Regions from separate parts of the Homo sapiens genome. Here all the other regions are linked to region 1. The links are contacts of gene promoters, found by promoter capture Hi-C in blood cells and fetal thymus (Javierre and others, 2016). All regions are on one chromosome and are shown on one strand. The core of a region is centred on a gene start or on the middle of the fragment in contact, and the rest is flanking DNA. Distances in the headings are between cores, read along the strand shown. Region 1 holds the start of FLACC1 (flagellum associated containing coiled-coil domains 1). Region 2 overlaps TMEM237 (transmembrane protein 237). Region 3 holds the start of NDUFB3 (NADH:ubiquinone oxidoreductase subunit B3).

Region 1 (5,103 bases), core at 1,594-4,093:
AGCAGGTGACAGGGCCGCCATTTATAACTGTCCATACTCCACTGGGTTTGGGGGCCTGTTAGGGCCAAGTCAAGGAGATGAGGTCAGAGAAGCAGATGGGATCGAGTGCCCAGGTGGGAAGATGATGCTACAAGGGGCTGGAATTCAGGTGAGAGTCTGAAAGAAGGCTACAACAGTAGCAAAAAAGAAACTGCTTCTGCTTAGAACCTTGTATCTGCTTCCTGTACGAAAGGAGCCAACCCTGAACTTGGGAGATTTAGCAGGAGTCCATGGGGCAAGAAGTGAGAGGCTAAGGCAGGCCCACTTCTAGCAACTGCCTTCTCTCTTCTTGAAGGCCAGGACTCCACTATGGAGTGCTCTCTGTGCCTCAACACCTCCACTAAGCCTTGCAAAGTGGCTTGTCCACAACGGGCATTTGATGAATATTTCTTACCTGACTAGTAAACTTAGTGGTTGTAATCAGCTCATCATGGTGGTTGGGGCTAGCTCAACAAAGAGAAAAAGATGGTATGGTGGCTGATGCCTGTAATTCCAGCACTTTGGGAGGCCAAGGCGAGAGGATCACTTGACGCCAGGAGTTCGAGACCAGCCTAGCCAACAGGGCGAAACCCCGTCTCTACTAAAAACACAAAAATTAGCCAGGCATGGTGGCACATGCCTGTAATCCCAGCTACTCGGGAGGCTAAGGCAGGAGAATCACTTGAACCTGGGAGGTGGAGGTTGCAGTGAGCCGAGATCTCACCACTGCACTCCAGCCTGGATGACAGAACAAGACTCTGTCTCAATAAATAAATGAATAAAACAAAAAACAAAAACAAAGAGAAAAGAGATTCACAGATGAAACTGCCAAAATGTTGTAATCGTCATTACCATATTATAAATAACATTAAACATTTGCATTCAAAAGCCAGAAAGCAGAGGTAAATTGTATGGGTGATACAATCACTCAGTGGAGTTTTACATAGATTTTCAATGATCTTTGATGAATGTGTAGTTGTTTCCTTTTCCTCTTTCCCATGATAAACAATGTCTTGGTATATATTCTTTTGCTCTTAAGAAAAAAAAAAAAGAAGGCCTCACAGGTGTGGTGGCACATGTCTGTAATCCCAACACTTTGAGAGACTGAGGTGGGAGAGTCGCTTGAGGCTAGGAGTTTGAGACCAGCCTGGGAAACATATCGAGACTCTGTATCTACAAAAAATTTTAAAAATAGCCTAGTATGGTGGAGTGTGCCTGTAGTCCCAGCCACTTGGCAGGTGGTGCGGGAGGATCACTTGAGGCCAGGAGTTTGAAGTTGCAGTGAGCTAGGACCACACCACTGCATTTCAGCCTGGGTGACAGCACAAGACCCTGTCTCTAAAAAATAAATAAATAAATAAAATAAAAATAAAGGCCTTTTTCTTTGAACACCCATGGGAGTGATACTCAAAATATTTAACAACCAGTAAGACAAGGCTATTGAATAATCAACCAGGGTTGGAACAGGGTCCTGGGAGATCTCACTCCCACCTCCATGCCAGGCATTAACCCCTTAGTTGCTGAATCATGAGGTGGTCTGGGGGTGCCAGGGGAGGAGTTGGGACAACCAAGGTGGCAAGGAGGACATGCAAGGGGCTTGGACAATGGTCATCTACCAATCAATATGACAGTATTTTATTTATTATTATTATTGTTTTGAGACGGAGTTTTGCTCTTGTTGCCTAGGCTGGAGTGCAATGGTGTGGTCTTGGCTCACTGCAACCTCTACCTCCGAGGTTCAAGCGATTCTCCTGCCTCAGCTTCCCCAGTAGCTGGAATTACAGGCACCCGCCACCATGCCTGGCTAATTTTTGTATTTTTATAACGATGGGGTTTCACCATATTGGCCAGGCTGGTCTCAAACTCCTGACTTCAGGTGATCCACCCATCTCAGCCTCCCAAAGTGCTGGGATTACAGGTGTGAGCTACCGTGCCCTGCCTATATGGCAGTATTTTAATATTTCAGTAGCTAAAATCAGCCCTTGACTTCTCATAGCTTCTTAAGTGGGAACTACTTCTAACAGATTTTTGGGGCATCCTTCCAGAAATGTTGTGAGTGCATATAACCTTAAATGTTTTGCATATAGAACTTAACCTGTAGAGAAGCATAATAGATTTTTTAAATTATTTGCATAAGTGAGAGCATACTTTGCACACAATGTTGCATCTTGTTCTTTTTGTGTAACAGGATATCTAGTTGATATTTCCATGTCATCACAGATAGATCTGCATTTACAGTGGCTTGACATCATATAGCTCTAATTATAGAGGGGTGTGTGAGTGTGTGTAAGGATTTTTTCTCCCCCTTTTTTCCCTTTCCTGCACTTCTACCTGATGATTTTACCTGAGGCTTGCCCTAACAATAGTCACCAGTGAGCCGGCAGAGGCTTCAGAGAAGTTACTGGTTAGTATTAATAATCAGTAGAAAAAATAATATAAAACATCTTTTCCAAAGAGCTTACCTTGGACTGCCCAAAGATCTGTTATTCTCATGTGGCCCAAGTCAAACATCTTAAAGAAACCACCATGTTAGAGAGAAATGGTTCCCCATCAACACAGAATCAGAGTTTACTTTAGATCAAAAGCCACTTTAGTGGCCATTCCAAGTGGTTGAAATGCCGAAGGAGAAAATTCACAGTATATGTACTGCGGGAAGACAGACTTCTAGTGAATCCAATCAAAGGCTTTTACAAAGGCTGGCCTGGCACAAACATGAATTTCCCTTCTAAAGACAAAACAGTTGAAGTTTCTCAGTATTGCAATGAAATTAAACTAGAGGAGAAGGTCACCCCACCATTCAGATTCCTGTGACTTGGGCCTGAGTTGTGAGGTTTGCCCTTGGGAGATGGCAGGCCAAAGTTTGTTTATTTTGTTGCTATGGACACAGAACAGTAGCTCCTCATTGGCTCAGGGCTCTTTTCTTCAAGAGAGAAGGTTGGGAGAAACAGCCAATTAAATTCTCCAAGACACAAATCAGTGACCACCCTCAACAGCAAAGAATTCATACTTTTAACACTGGATTTCCACTTTCGTCATCAGTCATGGGACAAAAAAGTTTAAGATATATCTTCAGAGGAAATAGAATTCAACAGCACTTTTAGGCTTCATTGGTCTATGGCAATAGTTACCAGGCAGGATCTGTGATGGATTTTTAATTCCTCTGTGATCTACTCACAGAAACCTAAAACTCTAGACACTTTTTTCCCTCGAGTTTAAGGCTTTGAAATCTGTGAAAGTAAAAATCCCCCAAGGCAGGAATCTTTTGCAGTCACAAGGTTTTCCGATTTTTTTTTTTAAATAAAGCTGCTTTTTCTTACTATAGAAAAAAGTACTTGCTTATTACAACCCAGTGGCTTTCATTTTAGTTTTACTGCCACTCATTATAAGAAATACATTTTACAAATTTTGTAATAAAAAAATTTCATGAAATAATACTCTTATTATTTGCTATTCTCTTCTATTTCTTTTTCTTCTTTAAATTAAAGCTGATTATAATCCACTAGATTGATTTCATGATCCTGGTGGGTCACAACCCCTAGCTTACAAAATATTGTTATAAATTCATCTATTCACTCAACTTCACATTTGTTGTCTACTGTGTGCCAGGCACTATTGCTAGGTGTGGGGATATACCTCAGTTCTTATACTCAATACAACTTAGAGACCAATGAGAAAACAGACAATAAAAAAGCTCAATAAAAGCATAATTAATTTTTTTTTCCTTTGAGACAGTAGCTCACTCTGTTACCCAGGCTGCGGTGCAGTGGCAGTGGCAGTGCAGGCTGCATGCATAGCTCACTGCAGCCTTGACCTCCTGGACTCAAGCGATCCTTCTGCCTCAGACTCCCAAGTAGATGGGACTACACAGGTGCACAGCACCATGCCCAGCTAATTTTTTTTTTTTTTTTTTTTTTTGAGACGGAGTCTCGCTCTGTCACCCAGGCTGGAGTGCAGTGGCGGGATCTCGGCTCACTGCAAGCTCCGCCTCCCGGGTTCACGCCATTCTCCTGCCTCAGCCTCCCAAGTAGCTGGGACTACAGGCGCCCGCCACTACGCCCGGCTAATTTTTTTGTATTTTTAGTAGAGACGGGGTTTCACCGTTTTAGCCGGGATGGTCTCGATCTCCTGACCTCGTGATCCGCCCGCCTCGGCCTCCCAAAGTGCTGGGATTACAGGCGTGAGCCACTGCGCCCGGCCGCCCAGCTAATTTTTTTGACTTTTAGTATACATGAGGCCTTGCTATGTTGTCCAGGCTGGTCTTGTACTCCTGAATTCAAGTGATCCTCCTGCTTCGGCCTCCCAAAGTGCTGGGATTACAGGTGTAAGTCACCATGCAGCCACAATGACTCATATTGAGACTTGCCAGAAGCAGTGGGAGTTCATAGCAGGAGTTACTCTTCTAGTCCAGTGAGTCAGGCAGCAGTGTTAAACAGAGAAGAGATCTGACTAGATCTACATATCAGAAAGATCATTCTGACTGCAATATAGGGAAGCAATTGGAAGGGCCAGGAAAACCAGGTAAAAGTCTGTGGCAGTGGTCGTCATGGGACCTGACGATGGCCCTGACTGAGGAGCAGCAGTGGGGATGGAGAGAAGACATGATAGAACTTGGTGATTGACTGGATGCTGGGATGAGCGAAAAGGAGAAGGTGATGATTCCTGGCTTTCCAGCTCGAGCAATTGAGTTGACCGTGGTGCCATTTATTGAGATAGGAAAGTGTGGAGGGATAAACAGGTTCTAGGGAGCAGATTATTAGTTCAGTTTTGGATATGTTGAGGTGCAGGGAGACTAATAGACAAGTGGTGACGTCTGTTAGAGTTTCTTACATATTTTAGAAGTTCAGAGGAAGATTCTGGCCTAGAAGCAGATTTAGGAGTCTTCAGAGTGGATACTATTCCAAGCCAAGGGAGCGAGTGAGATCACATATAGAGAGAGTATTGTGTAAGGAGAGAAGAGGGTCTAGAACAGAGCTCTGAGGACACCAGTATTTACGACAAGATTTCTCAGTGTGGGCCATGTGTAGTTAAAATGCATAGACCTGTTGCTTGATTGCAAGTGGCTTACATCAAAGAGGTTTATTAACC
Region 2 (5,103 bases), core at 1,234-3,733, 280 kb after region 1:
AAAAAAAAAAAAAGAGGCTCGAAGAAACAAGGAAGGATTCTTTTCTAGAGACTTCAGAGGGAGCATAGTCCTGCAGACAACTTGATTTTGGACTTCTCACCTAAGAACTATGAAAAAATAAACTGTTGTTTGAAGTCACACAGTTTGTGGTAATTTGTTATGGCAACCCTAAGAAATTAACATAGTATATTTTACAAAAATGGGATCCTCCAATACATACTATTTTATAACCTTTGTTCTTTGATTTAATAATACACAACTGATGATTATCTGTGTCACCCTAACAATCCTTTTAATGGGTACCTGGTTCCTATTTATGGATGAAGTATGATTTATTTAGCCAGTATCACACCGTTAAATATCTGGGTCATTACCAATTTCTACTCTTATAAATAACGCTGCAGTTAACATCCTTTAATTACTGCAGCTATTGAATTTACTACTATTCCCAGAAATCCAGACAGGCTGTATCTATGCTCCTATGAGCAAAGCATGAGTGCACCCATTTCCCATCAATATTGGATTTTATAATTTGAAAAAAGCATTGCCAATTTGATAGGCCAAAAAATGGTATAGTATTTTATTTACCTTGTGAACTGCCTGGGACATAGAAAGACTAAACAAATGTTAGCTGTTGTTTCACTATATTATTGTTAGTACAGAATCTACCATTTCCCCACTAATCTGAAATGTCCATTTCATCATTTACTAGATTTTTCTATGCACTGAGATCTGAACTTTCTGTTTAGTCCTGTATTTGTTGCCCTCCTCTCATAATCTATACATATATGATCAAAAGAGACCTGTAAAGTATTCTTGGCTTAAGCCATTGGAGTTATTCTAGTGGTAAATATTTTAAACATAAAAGCAAGAAACCACCTGTGGGATATGGATAGGGGGAAAGAAATGAAAGCAGAGAGGTTTTTATCATGTCATCAAAATCACAAGTGCTATCACAACTTAACCTTGGTTTCTTCACATACCAAGAGGTAGCCTTGTCTTTTTCTGTCTTCTTTGAACAGGAGCCTCTGGGTGCTCTTTGAGTTCTTTAGTTGATGGCTCATTGCCCTCAGAGGGCCTTCGACCAGCAGTCTGAGCAAGGCCTTCCAAAGAAGCACTTGCTATAGAAAAACAGAGTAGAAAAAAATGAGATTACTTGAGCAAAGATCACTGAATCTTAAAAAGATGGAGGAAAAGGTAACTAGAATGTTTCCTATAGAATAACCCCATCTCTTTCAGAACTAATTATCCCCCAAATCTTTCCTTCCTCCTCACCTGTAACTTTGGGCTTTAAGTTAGGAAAAGAAATAAATGAAGGAATAAGAAAGGCTGAGGAAGAAAAAACGAGGGGGCTAAAAAGAAGAGCAAAAGACAGGAGGAGGAGAAATTGCTTCAGAACATTTAGAACTTTGAAAAAGGTGGAAAACATAATAAAAACTGATACCATAGAGAATTCTCTTACTTGCCTCTTGCCTTAAGAATTTTCATCAGCCTCTATATAGTAAAGTCCTTCATTAATAAGTTAAAGAATAATAAAGTCATCATGGATAATTGGAGTTAGCAGGTAATTTATAAGTCTCTTCATTTGGTCATTCACTTCAACTTCTTCCCTCATGAAATCTTTTAAAAGAATTTTAACACATACCTGACTGCATTCCCTTCCTTGCTTGTCTTCTTCACAAAAGAAATAGAAATTGCACTGGGTGCAGTGGCTCATGCCTGGAATCCCAGCACTTTGGGAGGCCAAAGCAGGCGGATCACATGAGGTCAAGAGTTCGAAACCAGCCTGACCAACATGGCAAAACTCCCTCTCTACTAAAAATACAAAAATTAGCCGGGTGTAGTGGCATGCGCCTGTAGTCCCAGCTACTCAAGGAGGCCGAGGCAGGAGAATCGCTTGAACCCAGGAGGTGGAGGTTGCAGGGAGCCAAGATCACACCATTGCACTCCAGCCTGGGCAACAGAGCAAGACTCCGTCTCAAAAAAAAAAAAAAAAAATAGAAATGTATCAATAAACAAATGAAAATGTTTAACCTCAGTAGTACATAGAGAAATGTAAACTAAAATAAGCTACTTTTCCCCCACTAAATTAACAAAAAAATTTTAAAGATTGATTATTGTCCAATGTTGTTAAGGATTTAGAGAATGAGACACTCTCAGACTCTACAGGTAGCAAGATAATAACTAAAGCTTCCTTAAGGTAATTTAGCAGAGTCAGTCATACTAATAATGCACACATCCTGCACCTAGCAATTCCACTGCTAGCAATCCATCCTACAGAAGTACTTCTTCCCTACCACCCACTATTTTATGCAGAACTGCAACATTGTTGGAGTGAAAAATTGGAAATAACCTAAATAAATAACAGAGCAGTGATTATGGTACATTCTTATCATGTAATACAATGAAGTCACTGTTTAAGAATACATAGAACTCTATGTATTAAGAAACAAAGATAGTATGTATGATTCCTTTTATGTTTTTGTTGTTGTTTGTTTGTTTTAAAAAAGGAGCAGCAACCACAGAAACCTTTTAGGAGTGTGAGAGGTCTCAAGTAAAGAGTGAAGTTAAAGGATCAGGTAAAGATAATCTTGAGGTTTCAGGCCTGAGGGCTGGGAAAATGGTAGGTTCCATTAACAGAAAATCATGAGACGTAAAAAAATTATTTATTCTTAAAGGCAACGATGGATTCTAGATGTGCTGAGTTTAGAGTTACGGATGCAACTTCCAGGATTATCAGTGGATGACTAAGACAAAAACGAGTTCTGCTCATGACTGAAGCTTTACTATTTAAATGATGATGTGGCCATGCCTTCAGACTCATGCTGTAATGTAGAGATATTCTGATTGAAGTGAGATTTAAGAACTCTGTGTTTCTAAATTCAGTATCTTGTTCAAGGGTCTGGAATCAATCATAGCTTAAAACCATGTATGTTGTCTGGGGATAAAAGACCTTAAAGAGTCCAGGAATATCATGGAAATAGGAGCTTAGATGGCACCACCTTCTATTCCATGAATGCGTCCAGATACTCCTCAGGCTGCCCACTGCCCTGTACCTCACCACCACCAGGAATTCCACTGCTTCAAACTGGCCTTAATTCTATCCTCAATGAAGTGGAGATTCGGGGCTGCTGGGGCCTTAATTCTCCCTTATCTGTGATGTTTACTACGCCTGAGGTCCTGGGAAAACTTGTGATCCCACACAACAAAGAATAACGTCTTACCTGGTGTGTTTTTTGTTCTGGGCTTCTTTTTCTTAGGACGACTAAGTGGAATATCATCTATAAAGCAAGAAAAAACGTCAACAGAAAAGGGTGCCTAAAATTCAATGCAGAGAACAGTCAGAAGAGAACTTTTAAACAGGGAAGAATTCTCCCTCTCTTCCCTGGGCCTGGCAAACGTTTATAGATTAGGGGAAGAAGGCAAGAAATTGAGAAGATCAGAGAGAGCCCACAGTGTGGTACCAGTAGCACACTGCATGTCAGTAATGTTAGAAACCATGACACAGAAAGTGGGTTCAACAAATATTCATCTGATCCCCTATATTTCCCAGCCTCCTTGCACATAGGTGTAGTCTATGACTGGTTCTGGCCTATAGGCTGTGAGCAGAAGTGATCTGTGTCATTTCAGAGCCAAACGTTGAAAGAGCCAGTGAGTAATCTTCCAGCTTTCTCTTCCCTTGTTGTGGTGACTGAGGAAGCCTCATGTTAAGATGGTGGGACCACAGCACAGAAGTAGCCTAGATTGCAGACCAGGCGCAGTGGCTCACACCTGTAATCCCAACACTTTGGGAGGCCAAGACAGGCAGATCACTTGAGCTCAGGAGTTCGACACCAGCCTGGCCAACATGGCAAAACCCTGTCTCTACTGAAAATACAAAAAGTAGCTGGGCATGGTGGCACACGCCTGTAATCCCAACTACTCAGGAGGCTGAGGCAGGAGAATGACTTGAACCCAGGAGGCAGAGATTGCAGTGAGCCGAGATCACACCACTGCACTCCAGCCTGGGCAACAGAGTGAGACTCTGTCTCAAAACAAAAGAAAAAAAAAAGTAGCCTAGATTGCTATATCAATAGTAAAAAGGTAGTGAAAGGTAATGGTCCCCCATTTTTGCCATAGCAGACTTTGTATTAATTAGAAATAACCCTGTGTGACACTAAGTCACTGAGATTTGGGGGTTTTAGTATAGTATAACCTTGTCTACCCTGACTAAATGAGACAAAGGAAGGTGCAGTCCTCATTATAGAGCTACAAATTAGCCAACAGTTATGTGCTGGGTGACCCCATTCAGGGATGAAGTGCTTTTATAATGGAAAGGTCATCTAGTGCTATGTATCAATGACAATTTTTAAATGGTAGTCATGGGAGATTATTTCACAAAAACATATTGTAGAATTACAAATTACACCATTCAGACTCAGTTTTAAGAGAAACAAACCAAGGAATCAAACTAATTTTTGAACACCAAATATTATATTTACATTAAACTAACTCACCTTGACTAACACGTCATATAACACCAAACAAATTTAATCAGCAGGACAAAGACAAAAAAGAAACAATTAATTAGAAACCTGTTAATATTCACAGTGAAAATTGACTTAAATCATTACAAATTTAAAATAAAATTAGCTTTCACATAATAGCTAGTTTACAAACTAGTTTACTGTTTATAATTAAGTGGTTTAATAACACTGCTAATAAAATAATGTCAATATTTTCTGAACCTACATATACATATTCCCTACTGTCTATTAATAAAATGGATTAAGCAGATTAAGAACTCTTACTTGTGACTGATTAAAATCAGCTTAAACTCTGAGGAAACTATTCTCACAAAAGACCAGAATTCTGATTTAAAAAAAAAAAGACACCAAAACAGTTAGAAAGGGAATGGATCCATTATCCTACCATGTTGATATTCAGGCTTTTAAATATAACATTCCATTATAACTGTTATTCTTAAAATTCAAGGATTTTTCACCTTTAAAATTTCAGAAAATCCCTAAATTTTTCAGAAGAGTTTCCTGAATCATTGTAATTTTGCAATGATACTAGTCAATTTTTCCACTGTCTTCATTTTCCATTTTTAAAGCTCAATAA
Region 3 (5,103 bases), core at 783-3,282, 290 kb before region 1:
AAAATTGTAGAGTTGCTGACACTACATTAGACCTTATCTCCTAAGCTAAAGGCAATATTTCAAACACCTTACATTTTAGAAATTTATAACACTTCTTTTAAAATCATTTTCCAGTGCTGCTCTCAAAATTGTTTTTCAATGACCTACAAAATCAAGTTTTTATGTCGTTTGCCCTTCCATAACACATACTGAATAGAATTCCTATTTTAATTCTACATTTTATTGTGGAAACAATGAATTATAAAATTTTTTTAAATAAGATAATTTAGTTAATTATATCTATAAATATATTTTGCCTCTGTCCGAGAGGTTCAGAGTCCACTTTTTAAACCTAATAAATAATTCATAAGTAGCTTCTCAGACTTGCTTACAGAACAAACTACTTAAAAGTTGACTTTTTTCTGCCGGGCACGGTGGCTCACGCCTGTAATCCCAGCACTTTGGGAGGCCGAGGCGGGCGGATCATCTGACGTCCGGAGTTCGAGACCAGCCTGACCAACATGGAGAAACCCCGTATCTACTAAAAATACAAAATTAGTCGGGCGTGGTGGCGCATGCCTGTAATCCCAGCTACTCCGGAGGCTGGGGCAGGAGAATGGCTTGAACCCGGGAGGCGAAGGTTGCTGTGAGCCGAGATCGCGCCATTGCACTCCAGCCTGGGCAACAACAGCGAAACTCCGTCTCAAAAAAAAAAAAAGTTTATTTTTTTCCCCATATTCAGACCACCACCTTATTTGCACAGTCCCTAACTTCCACAATATCCTGGGGGGAGGAAGGGATCTACCAACTAATTTTCTAGTCATTTTCCAACTTACACTGAGCTCCTACTGTACATTTTTAAAGGATTCCCCACTTTTCTGAAGATCTTTAAAAAATGTTGTCAGCCTTGACCCTCAAATAAATTCACGAACTACAAAACATGAACCTGGCCACATTCATCGCAAACTAGTATCTGTCAAGTCCATAATTGGGATAAGCTCTTCGTGACTACTCTATCCTCCATGCTACCACCCTTCGCCTAGAGAACCTGCCAATGTAAATGGCACTCAAGCCAATGAAAAAAGTGTTCTAACACATTAATAGGTTGCAAGACCTCCTCTCCCAGGAGGGACAACCTAGTTGTTTGGGTAAATAACAGCCAAAGATTACATAATGTACAGCAATAATGAGTGTTCAGAATCTGACCGCCAGTAAATATTTTTCTTCTCCGCTCCCCCTCACCACCCCCAGGAAATGGCCCTAAGAAGCAATCACTGGGATTTCTCTTAACTGTCTTCAATGCCGTGTCCTTTTCTCGCCTGGGGCTTTGTGCAAAGAATCCCTTCAGCCCTCACGACACCGCCTTGCTCCCGCCTCTCCTCCCTCTCTGCTGGCGCCACCGCAGCCCCCACGCCCTAGGTGGGCCCCCACGTCGCCCCACAAGGCTCGGCTTCCACCCGCCTCGGCTGCCGCCTTCTCCTCCTCACGACCCTCCCAAGATGCTACCTGGTTTACGAGAGGTTCCGGGACCACCAACACACCGGCTACCGCCTTTCCAGACCACCCTCGCCAGCTCCCGTCTGTAGTTTCCGCGGCCGAAGGAGAAGAAAACCCCTCTTCATCTAGCACTTTGCCTCCCCCAAAGACAGCACCGCCGCCTACCTGTCACCCTGCTGTCTCCGGCTTCCTACCGCCGCCGCCTCCCGCAGCAGCCTGCCAACTGCAGCGCAACAACCAACCCTCTCATTGGGTGAGAACACGCTCTCAACAACAGCCTCCCTTATTGGCTGCAGTATGCCGGCAGCCCCGCCCTGTGTGCGGTGTCTAAGGATTCCGTCCCCAAGCAAGGACAACATATTATCTTCCCCGCCCTTCTCTTTTCTACAGTATCTGTTACCTCAGTCAGATTGAGGATGCACATATACTGGGAAAATAATCGACTTCCAGCGTCCCTCATGTAGTCTCTACCTGATTCAGGAATCTCTAACCCAGTATCGGAACGTTAAGCGGCTTCTCCGCTTTCCTGCCGTGAGAAACTCGAGGTGACAACCTCCGTTTCCGGTTGGCTCCGGTTGCAGAGTTGAGTGTCCTGAGAGGTCAGATTGCTGTCAGGTAAATTAGGGAGTTGGTGGGAGGCCCGTTGATTAGGATTAAGAGCTAGACTCTATTCTGGGGAGTGCAGAAAAGGAGAGACTAAATGGAGAAGGATGGGAGGCTGGGAGGGAGATCAAAGAACTAGCAGGCGAGAACTAATGAAGTCCTAGTTTAGAGTTGGGGTAGGAAGAGGTGGTTGGAGGATTCAGTGATCATTACTGTAGTTGTTAAATCCAGGTGCTTGTTCCCGCTTCTGCCACACGCAAAATTGTCTTTGTTTGCCTTTGGATCGCAAAGGCAGAAGAACAGCATCACTAAAAGTAATAACAGTTCATTTGTTTTTTATGTTCTAATATTCATATAATCACAGTTTTTAATACGAGGAAGTTAAGATATATACTTGATAGTCTTCGGTAAACTAAAATTGCATGTAGTGGAAGTAGCATTATCTTCTTATTTCTTTCTTAGGGAAAGGATACCAGCACATTTTCTTAGAGCCAGCTTCCTTTAGTGGAGGTTGATCTTCATGAGACTTTTAGATTCACTTCAGACATAGATAGCTTTTAAAATTTTTGGTTGCATGTTTTTTCTTTATTTAACTAATTTCCTTACTGTTATTATTTGAGCTGCTCTGAAACGGAAATAACCACCATTTTTCAGTCCTCAGCACAATTTAAGTCAATTTTTCTATTTTTATTTTTTATTGTCAAGTATATATACAGAAGGGTGTATAAAACATACATTTTAAAAAATTATAACTAACAGAAGCAGACACTCCTGTATCCACCTCTTAGATTAGAAAATAAAGCATTGCCAATAACTTAGAACATGCAGTCTTAACAGGGGTGATTTTACATTTCAAGGGGTTGAAAATTGGTGGGGCCGGGGTCGGAATCTTAGTTACTACAATGATTTGTGTCCCTCCAAAGGGCCACAGTATATAAACAGTTATACAGTATATATGTAGTGTTAAATTTTCATGGCGGGGGGTGTGATTAGGAATAAAATGTCTAGAAAGGTTCCTTACAGGGACAATAGTTAAAAATTGGTTGAAAAACACTGCCTTAGAATCTCCCAGTATGTTTCTGTGATTCCATCTCCTCCACCAAGAGGTAACCATTATCCTGACTTGTGCTAAGCACTCACTTGTTTTACTTTAATTTTTCCGTCTATGATGAATTCCTAAAAAATGAATTGTTAGGCATTTCAATCTATATAAATGGGTTCAGAGTGCATGTGTATTTTTTTCTGACTCACCCCTTGCTCATTATCCATATTTGTGGAGATTCAATCACACTTTTGCATGTAGTTTTTTGTTGTATAATATTCTACAGTGTGACTATACCATAATCCCTTCTATTGTTATTGGACATTTGGGTTGTTTACAGTTGGGAGAGAGAATAAACAATGTGGCTATAAAGGTTCTTTTAAAAACATATTTCTTAGGCTGGGCACGGTGGCTCACGCCTGTAATCCCAACACTTTGGGTGGCCGAGGCAGGCGGATAATGAGGTCCAGAGATCGAGACCATTCTGACCAACATGGTGAAACCCAGTCTCTACTAAAAGTACAAAAAATTAGCCGGGTGTGGTGGTGCACGCCTGTAATCCCAGCTACTCGGTAGGCTGAGGCAGGAGAATCACTAGAACCTGGGAGGCGGAGGTTGCAGTGAGCCGACATTGCACCACCCACTGCACTCCAGCCTGGCGACAGAGTGATACTCCATCTCAAAAAAAAAATTTGTTTTTTTTTAAAGACTAGAGGCTTGATGTCTCTAAGAAAATATTTTAAATATATTTTTTATATTCCATAAATATAAACCTTTGATCTGTGATTATGTTTATAAGATTTACAGTTGATAAAGTAGATTCATATATCCAAATTGTTCCAAAGACACTTTTATTTATTTATTTTATTTGTATATTTTTTGAGACAGAGTCTCGCTCTGTCGCCCAGGCTGGAGTGCAGTGGCGCGATCTCGGCTTAGTGCAATCTTCACCTCCCAGGTTCAAGTGATTCTTCTGTCTCACCCTCCCTAATAGCTGGAACTACAGGCATGTGCTACCATGCCCAGCTAATTTTTTTATTTTTAGTAGAGACGGGATTTTGCCATGTTGGTTAGGCTTTTCTTGAACTCCTGACCTCAGGTGTTCCACCTGCCTCAGCCTCCCAAAGTGCTGGGATTACAGGCGTGAGCCACCGCTCCTGGCCTCCAAAGACACATTAATATTTTCTAATAACGATTTGATCATCTGTTTTGAGATTAAGTTAATTAAAATTAAATTAAAATTCCCAGTTCCCAACTGCACCAGCCACATTTCAAGTGCTAGTGGCTACCATATTGGACAGTGTCTATCTAGAATATATGTACTAGGAGTGGAATTGATGGCCATAAGGTATTCATATGTTCAGCTTTTTTTTTTTTTTTTTTTTGAGATAGAATCTCACTCTGTCACCCAGGCTGGAGTGCAGTGGCGCAATCTCGGCTCACTGCAACCTCCACCTCCTGGGTTCAAGTGATTCTCATTCCTCAGCCTCCTGAGTAGCTGGGACTACAGGTGTGTGCTACCACACCTGGCTAATTTTTGTATTTTTAGTAGAGACAGGGTTTCCCCATGTTGGCCAGGCTGGTCTCAACTCCTGGCCTCAAGTGATCCACCTGCCTTGGCCTCCCAAATTGCTGGGATTACAGGCGTGTGCCACTGCGCCCAGCCATGTTCAGCCTTTCTAGGTCTTGCCAGTTTTTCAGAATGGTTGTGCTTAGTTACATTCTCACCACCTAAGTATGAAAGTAGAAGGCACATCACAATGTGTTTTCCTCAGCTCTCACGATCTTGCAAGGTAGGTTTTATCTTCATGTTATATGAAGAAACTGAAGTTCAGGGAAATTAAGTGATTTGCCTTGGATTTTACTTTTACTAGTGCAAAGTAGGAGAATTTCAAGCTCTTACTTTACAGGTCACGATATCATTGTTTGATTTATGGCTATTTGGAAATAGAAATAAGTTTAAAAAGAAAAATGGGCCAGGT

The links. The method cuts DNA at HindIII sites, captures the fragments that hold promoters and counts their contacts. A CHiCAGO score of 5 or more calls a contact.
Region 2: a contact is called between a fragment that was not itself captured here and the fragment with the promoter of FLACC1 in region 1, in 2 of 17 cell types (endothelial precursors and erythroblasts). The highest score is 5.9, in endothelial precursors.
Region 3: a contact is called between the fragment with the promoter of NDUFB3 here and the fragment with the promoter of FLACC1 in region 1, in 13 of 17 cell types (total B cells, naive CD8 T cells, neutrophils and 10 more). The highest score is 18.8, in total B cells.

Annotation. Positions count from the first base shown.
Region 1 is chr2:201,354,502-201,359,604 of GRCh38, forward strand. FLACC1 (flagellum associated containing coiled-coil domains 1) reads right to left here and starts at 2,844. Exons shown (of 15, transcript NM_001127391.3): 1 at 2,481-2,844. The HindIII fragment of the contact is 10,294 bases long and covers 1-5,103 here.
Region 2 is chr2:201,635,765-201,640,867 of GRCh38, forward strand. It overlaps TMEM237 (transmembrane protein 237), which reads right to left. Exons shown (of 13, transcript NM_001044385.3): 3 at 4,497-4,501; 4 at 3,225-3,281; 5 at 984-1,121. Among named protein-coding and RNA genes, the nearest start is that of TMEM237, 5.2 kb to the right of the region's middle. The HindIII fragment of the contact is 591 bases long and covers 2,189-2,779 here.
Region 3 is chr2:201,069,969-201,075,071 of GRCh38, forward strand. It overlaps NDUFB3 (NADH:ubiquinone oxidoreductase subunit B3), which reads left to right and starts at 2,033. Exons shown (of 3, transcript NM_002491.3): 1 at 2,033-2,091. It overlaps HYCC2 (hyccin PI4KA lipid kinase complex subunit 2), which reads right to left and starts at 1,703. Exons shown (of 13, transcript NM_001321623.1): 1 at 1,642-1,703. RefSeq lists enhancers at 1,176-1,315, 1,306-1,931, 1,416-1,685, 1,706-1,795, 1,932-2,555. The HindIII fragment of the contact is 13,158 bases long and covers 1-5,103 here.